Regions from separate parts of the Homo sapiens genome. Here region 1 is linked to region 2. Evidence: promoter capture Hi-C in 16 types of primary human blood cells and fetal thymus (Javierre and others, 2016). All regions are on one chromosome and are shown on one strand. The core of a region is centred on a gene start or on the middle of the fragment in contact, and the rest is flanking DNA. Distances in the headings are between cores, read along the strand shown.

What was found. The method cuts DNA at HindIII sites, captures the fragments that hold promoters and counts their contacts. A CHiCAGO score of 5 or more calls a contact.
Region 1: a contact is called between a fragment that was not itself captured here and the fragment with the promoter of TMEM14B in region 2, in 5 of 17 cell types (naive B cells, M2 macrophages, erythroblasts and 2 more). The highest score is 8.2, in naive B cells.

What each region holds. Positions count from the first base shown.
Region 1 is chr6:10,498,014-10,501,827 of GRCh38, forward strand. No RefSeq gene overlaps it. Among named protein-coding and RNA genes, the nearest start is that of LINC02522, 18 kb to the left of the region's middle. The HindIII fragment of the contact is 3,498 bases long and covers 1-3,017 here.
Region 2 is chr6:10,745,797-10,749,255 of GRCh38, forward strand. TMEM14B (transmembrane protein 14B) reads left to right here and starts at 2,009. Exons shown (of 6, transcript NM_030969.5): 1 at 2,009-2,085; 2 at 3,406-3,459. The coding sequence starts at 3,450. It overlaps TMEM14B-DT (TMEM14B divergent transcript), which reads right to left and starts at 1,788. Exons shown (of 2, transcript NR_187231.1): 1 at 1,665-1,788. RefSeq lists an enhancer at 1,569-1,618 and silencers at 1,739-1,968, 1,803-2,023, 1,979-2,038. The HindIII fragment of the contact is 12,296 bases long and covers 1-3,459 here.

The sequences.
Region 1 (3,814 bases), core at 19-2,518, 250 kb before region 2:
GCTGCTAACAGCATGGATTCTGGCACCAAACTGCCTGCTTTTGAGACGTGGTTCTATGGCTTCAAGCCTGTGTGACCTTGGGAGAGTTAATCAACTTCTCAGTGCCTCATATTTTTCTTGGGTAAAAGGAGGATAATAATAGTATCCCTCTCATAGGGTTGCTGTGAGTATGATTCATTGTATGTAAAGAGCACAGAACAGCGCATGGCACATTGTGTGTTACAAGTGTTTGCAAATATTCCATATCATTCCATTCATTCATATCTTAGGCAGTACAATATGCATTAATTTGGTATTTAACCATTCTATTGAATTCAATAGATTAGAATTCAGTTATTCAATAGATTAGATTTTTATTTATTTATTTTTCATCTTTTATTTATTTTTTGAGACGGAGTCTCACCCTGTCGCCCAGGCTGGAGTGCAGTGGCTTGATCTCGGCTCACTGCAAGCTCCACCTCCCGGGTTCACACCATTCTCCTGCTTCAGCCTCCCAAGTAGCTGGGACTACAGGTGCCTGCCACCATGCCCGGCTAATTTTTTGTATTTTTAGTAGAGATGGGGTTTCACTGTGTTAGCCAGGATGGTCTCGATCTCCTGATCTCATGAGCCACCTGCCTTGGCCTCCCAAAGTGCTGGGATTATAGGTGTGAGCCACTGCGCCCAGCTAGATTTTAATTTACTAATGTAATAACCATTCTATAGAATTTTATTTATTTATTGAGACATAGTCTTGCTCTGTTGCCCAGGCTGGAGTGCAGTGGCACAATCTCGGCTCACTGCAACCTCCACCTCCTGGGTTCAAGCGAGTCCCCTGCCTTGGCCTCCCCAGTAGCTGGGTTTACAGGTGTGCACCACCATGTCTAGCTAATTTTTTTGCATTTTTAGTAGAGACGGGGTTTCATCATGTTGGCCAGGCTGGTCTCCAATTGCTGACCTCAGGTGATCCGCCTGCCTCGAACCCCCCAAAGTGCTGAGATTACAGGCATAAGCCACGGCACCCAGCCCCATTCTATAGAATTTAATGGATATAGATTACTATACCAATTTAATTTTTTCTTTCTCCCATATTCCACCCAACCTAGCAACACTGAGATATAATTGAGATAAACTTCACATACATGTACAATTGATGAGTTTTAACTTATTAAAATATCTGTGAAATCATCACTTCAGTAAAACACAGAACATATTCATCAGCCCCAAAAGGTTTCCCCGGGTCCCTTTGAGATGTCTCCCTTCCAGATAACTGCTGATTGACTTTCTGTCGCTATAGAAAGTTTGCACTTTTAGTTTGCATTTTCTAGATTTCTATATTAATGAAATCTTATAGCAGGAACTTTGTTTTCTGGTATGGCTTCTTTCAGCATTAATATTTTGAGGTTTGTCCATGTTGTTGCACGTATTAATAGTTTACTCCTTTTATTACTGGGAAGTATTCCCTTGTATGACTATACCATACTTTTTTTAATCCATTCACCTGCTGATAGACATTAGTATTACTTCCACTTTTTTTTTATTTGTTTGAGATGGAGTGTTGCTCTGTCACCCAGGCTGGAGTGCAGTGGCGCGATCTCAGCTCACTACAGCCTCTGCCTCCGAGTAGTTGGTATTAAAGGCGCACGCCACCATGCATGGCTAATATTTGTATTTTTAGTAGAGATGAGGTTTCACCATGTTGACAGGCTGGTCTCGAACTCCTGATCTTGTGATCTGCCCATCCAGCCTCAAAAAGTCCTGGGATTACCGGCATGAGCCCCTGTGCCAGGCTTTTTTTTTTTTTTTTTTTTTAAATAAAGATGTCATAAACAGCTATATACAAGAGTATATACCAACATATGATTTGAATTCCCTGGAATAAATATAGTTGATCCTTATTTGCGGGTTATGTGTTTTAAATTCACCTACTCATTAACATGTTTGTGTAACCCCAAAAGTATTAACCTTACAAGTAGTATTCATGGTCACTTGCCCATATGTGCAGAGCTGCCAAAAGTCTAAGTTCCCAGGCTTGCACATTCCCAGCTAAGGTTGAACAAGATGACTCTACTTTCTTGTTTCAGCTCATACACAGAGGTGACTAGAAAATAGAGACGGGGCCAGGCATGGTGGCTCATGCCTGTAATCCCAGCACTTTGGGAGGCCGAAGCAGGTGGATCACGTGAGGTCAGGAGTTCGAGACCAGCCTGGCCAACATGGTGAAACCCCATCTCTACTAAAATACAAAAAATTAGCCAGGCGTGGTGGAGGCGCCTGTAATCCCAGCAACCCAGGGGGCTGAGGGAGGAGAATCGCTTGAACCTGGAAAGTGGAGGTTGCAGTGAGCTGAGATTGAGCATGCCACTGCACTCCAGCCTGGGCGACAGAGCAAGACTCTATCTCAAAAAAAAAAAAAAAAGAGAAACGGGAGGGAACATTATACATTATAGGGCAAAAAGTTGCAGCTGTGGGGCCAGCTGGACAGATCTGAATCTCACCTCCGGCGCCTGTAGATCCCGGAGCATTAGGACCTTGGATGTTTTTAAAAGAATATTCTCTGATCACACGGAATTAAGTTGGAAATCAGTAGCAGAAAACGCCCCTTGGTGGAGTATCTCAGGCAAGACTCTTAACACTTTGGAACATAGTTTTCTCTTTTATAAAATAAAAGAAAATCAATCAGGATGAGTTGTCTTGGAGATTTAAGATTATAATCCATGTTAGATATATATCCTCTAGCGACAATATTTCAGAGTTAGCTAATTCAGTTTGTGGCAACTTTATAGAAATAACTACCTCGAATAATGAGAAGCAATTGTACCTAGAGGGGATGGATAGGTCTTACGACGGGTATATTTAAGAGTTTAGGAAACTACTGAACTATTGTCCAAAGTGTTTGTGTGATTTTACATTTCCAGCAGGATAGGAAATTTCCAGTTGATTCACATCTCACCAACACACGGTATGGCCAATCTCTTTAATTTTCGCTATTTTAGTGGGATTATAACAATATTTCCTTGTGATTTTAATTAGCACTAAGCTTGCAATGAATAATGATTTTGAATATCTTCTCAGGTATTTATTTACCTTCTGTGTGTCTTCTTTAATAATCTGTTCAAATCTTTTCCTCATTATTTAAAAAATCAACTTTATTGGTCTTTATTTTTAAGAACATGCTTCTCACATATTTACCTATGTAACAAACCTGCACATCCTGCACATGTACCCCAGAACTTAAAAGTTGAAGAAAAAAAATTTTAATCTTAAAAAAAAAAAACATGCTTCTGCCTTCATTGATTTTTTTTTCCCCATTTTTTTCCTGTTTTTCAGTTTATTGATTTTTGTTCCTATCTTTAGTATTTCTTTGATTCTGCATGGTTTGGGTTTAATATAGCCTCTTGCTTTATTTTGTTAGAGAGGAAACTGAAGTCATTGATGAGAGAACTTTCTTCTTTTTTAATGTAGGTATTTCATGCTGTAAATTTTTCTCTGCATTGCGTTAGCTGAATCCCACAAATTTTGATACATCATGTTTTCATTTTCATTAAGCACAAAGTCCTTTCTAATTTCCCTTTTAGTGTCTCTTTTGGACTACGAATTATTTAGAAGTATGGTCTGAAATTCCAAATATTTGGGCATTTTCCAGATATCTTCCTGTTACCGATTTCCAACTTAATTCCACGTGATCAGAGAACATCCTTTAAAAAAAAAAAAGAAAAGGTACTTTTTTGGCTCATGGTTCTGCAGGCTGTACAAGAAGCATGGCACTGGCTTCTGCTTGGCTGCTGGTAAGGGCTCTTGTGCTACGTCAAAACATGGCAGAGAAGGTCAAAGG
Region 2 (3,459 bases), core at 759-3,258:
TAGGTTAAGAAAATAGGCGGTTTTTTTTTTATGATTTCATTTATTTCTTGGGGAAAGAGTTATTGACCTTGCTCTTCAAACAAACCTATAAAATACTCCCAAAGATGTAGAAATTGGTATTGTAGACACTTGATAGACATGAATTACCTGGGCAGACTGCAACTTGGGATTTGTTTTTGACGTTTTTGTTCAGGGACTTCTTAATTTGTAAAGTCAACACATTCAGGCTCCAAAAATGCTAAACTAATGCTTACATTGAAGCTCAATTCCCTTTCTTCATGAGCTCTTGTGTTGTGGGAGATGATCTCTACTGCTCTTGCTGTGTGAGTACACACCTGTGTGTGTACCTGTGTTTGTCTACCAGACACAATTCTTACTCAAAGCCTCTTTGTGGGAAAAACAAAACAAAACACCCAAACCTACTGATAGGCCTCAGTGACCAAAGACTAGAAACTTAACATTCCCTGACATAATTTTGATTACACCCTTTTGACACATTTGTGTTCCAGGGTTCCGATAATTCAGTGGGCCCCCAGTGAAGAGCTAAGCTATCTCCTAACAACGTTAATGCCAACTAGAAATATTCCCAAACACAAATCATTGATTGTTTTACTCTGGTACTAATTGAAATAGAGCAGAAACCAATTTCTTTAATTTATTTTATGACATGTTTTGATGGACTTTACCTACACAGAAGAGCTATGTGTTCTGGTTGAGGAACGACACTGCAAGAAGCAGCATATGGTAGAATTAAGGACGCAGGCTTTGACATTAGACCTTACTTTAAATAATAGCTCTACCAGTGACCAGGACTGTAGGTAATTTAATTCTCTGAGGTTCAGCCTCTTCAAGTATAAGGTGGGGAAGGGCTCGAGGATCATGGTGGATGATCCTAATTAAGGTTTGAGGCTTGCACCTGCATAGGGAAGAATGAGTCCCTAAAGCCATTCCCTGCTGGTTAAGACAAGTCTCATTAATTGTTCAGGAAAGTCTTCAATTAAATTGAAGGTCTGGCATACTGCAATTCCTGCAAGTTCTTAGTTATTATCAGCTCTGGCTGGTTAGAAGCAGCTATGATAAACACGGGCTTCAATTTAGCTATCTGGAAGGTAGGTGCTGCTGCAAGTGGAAAGTTTGTCTTTAAGAATATGCGCTGCAATTTGCTTTATTCACTGATGATTATATTGATCGGAGTTGTCTATGTTGATACTTGTAGGGGATGAAGGAGAGGGAGAAGTCAACGATGACAGCAAATTTTAGTGTAGAGCAACTGAGCGAATGGTGGTGCAGGAAACACAGAAGAGGAGCGGCTCGGAAGTGGGAATGGAGATAACATCATACTGTGGACATTCGGAATCCACAGAGCTGCGTGGAAATCAGATTTAACTTGCTCTCTCTCCCCATTTAAGATGCTTCTCAAGTAGCCTCACTCCCTAAAACAAACGGATATTTGGCATTGCGCCACATTATTCTGCAGCTGCCATATTTTCTTGCAGGTGGAAGGCAGGCCCTTCCTGGTGTAAACAAACAAGATCGGGCCAGAGTGACAATCCTCCCTGATGGCCCGCACCTGGTTTATACCCTCTATTAATGGGGTCCTTCAAAATCATCAGATGCCCTCCTCCCGCAGCGGTGGCCTCCACCTCTGGCCTGGCCCAGCTTACGTGGTCCAGCTTGTGCAAGATCCAATTCCAACTCCGGGTTTCCGGCTTTTGGCCACTCAGGATTGGACCTGGGACTGGAGCTGGTCGGCCCTGCAGGTGCTGGGCCTGGGGACTGAGGAAGCACAGAGATTCCCCGCCCGGTTCCCCGCCAACGGCGCTAGCCGCGATGCCCCGCCTCACTCCCCGCCCCCGGGATGCAGGGCGCGTGCTGGTAATCCGCGGCTCAAGCCCCGCCCCCACTGTCCCCATTCTCCGCTCACCTCTCTCCAAGGACACTGCGCACGCGCCACGACGTCCCGCCTTTCTCCCCGCCCTGCCGCGGCCCCGGGGCGCAGCGCGCACGCAATCGCGTTTCCGGAGAGACCTGGCTGCTGTGTCCCGCGGCTTGCGCTCCGTAGTGGACTCCGCGGGCCTTCGGCAGGTCGGTGCAGGTCTTTGGAGAGTATTGTTTTTATTTTCTGCCACTTTTAACTTTTAGGGATTATTTAGGAGTTTCACGGCCGTCTGCTTTTCGTCCCCCCGATTCAGCGGGCCTTTATGCCGTGTGGTCGGTGCTTTTCTCCTTGGGTATTTTCTGCTTGTCTTAAAAGAGGCTGTGGATGCTCGGAGCACCTGAGCTCCTGAGGCAAAGGCTTACCCTTGTAGCATAGTGTTGCCTCGTTTCCTGGTGGTTTTGTTGCTCCAGCTCTTTAAAAGCCTCCCTTACTCAGTGCCGCCTCGAGTTAAGAACTGTGGGCAAGATCCCAAGCCCGCTGCCCTTCCCCGTTTTATGGGAAATTAATTCTTTCTTTTTTTGGGGGGTGGGGAGGGGTTCTCGCTGTGTCGCCCAGCCTGGAGTGCAGTAGCCTGAATATGTCTTATTGCAGCCTCTGCCTCCTGGGCTCAAGCCATCCTCCCACCTCAGCCTCCCAAGTAGCTGGGATTACAGGTGCATGCCATCATGCCCGATTTGTGTGTGTGTGTGTGTGTTTTAATAGAATATGGGTTTCACCATGTTGACCAAGCTGTTCTCGAACTCCTAACCTCAGGTAATCCGCCTGCCTGGGCCTCCCAAAGTACTGGGATTACAGGCGTGAGCCACTTTGCCTGGCCTAATTCTTTAAACAGAATAAACGGCGTATGCATTGCTTTCCATCTTGTTAGGTTCACTGCATACAGAATACTTTTCTGTAAGAAAATAGGAGCTGTTTTTCCAAGGGTGCAATGTCACATGTGATTCTGACTTGAGTTTCCGTGTATTTTACCCTCCCCTTCTGCCCTCCTAACGAGAACTGTGAGTTGGATGCAGAAGTTTCTAAAAAAAAAAATTGAGTATTGAAATTGGCTGTTGCATCAGTGAAGAAAAGCAACATCCCTACCACCCCTCAAAAGAGACATTAAAGTAGTTGGATTAAGGGCACGGGAGTATTTGCTTTCCGATTTAGTGATAATGTGAGTGCTTAATGAAATGACTAACACATTCCCTGATTATAGAGCTGGTCAGTGGATCTTGCTGAGTTTCCTGTGGACCTATGTGAAATGATCGGCATCTGTTCAGGGTTTACTAGGTGCTAAGCACCTTTACATGTGACATCCATTGAATGCTCACAACACCCCCAGGAAATTGGTACCAGTGTTATCCTCATGGTACAGTGAAGGATACTGAGACTTAGGTTGCATAGCCTGCAGGTTGGACACACTTCTTTCTGACTGCTGGGGAGCTGTGCTTTTAACCACTGCTGATCCGGCTTGTTTTCCCCAGATGCAGGCCTGGGGTAGTCTCCTTTCTGGACTGAGAAGAGAAGAATGGAGAAGC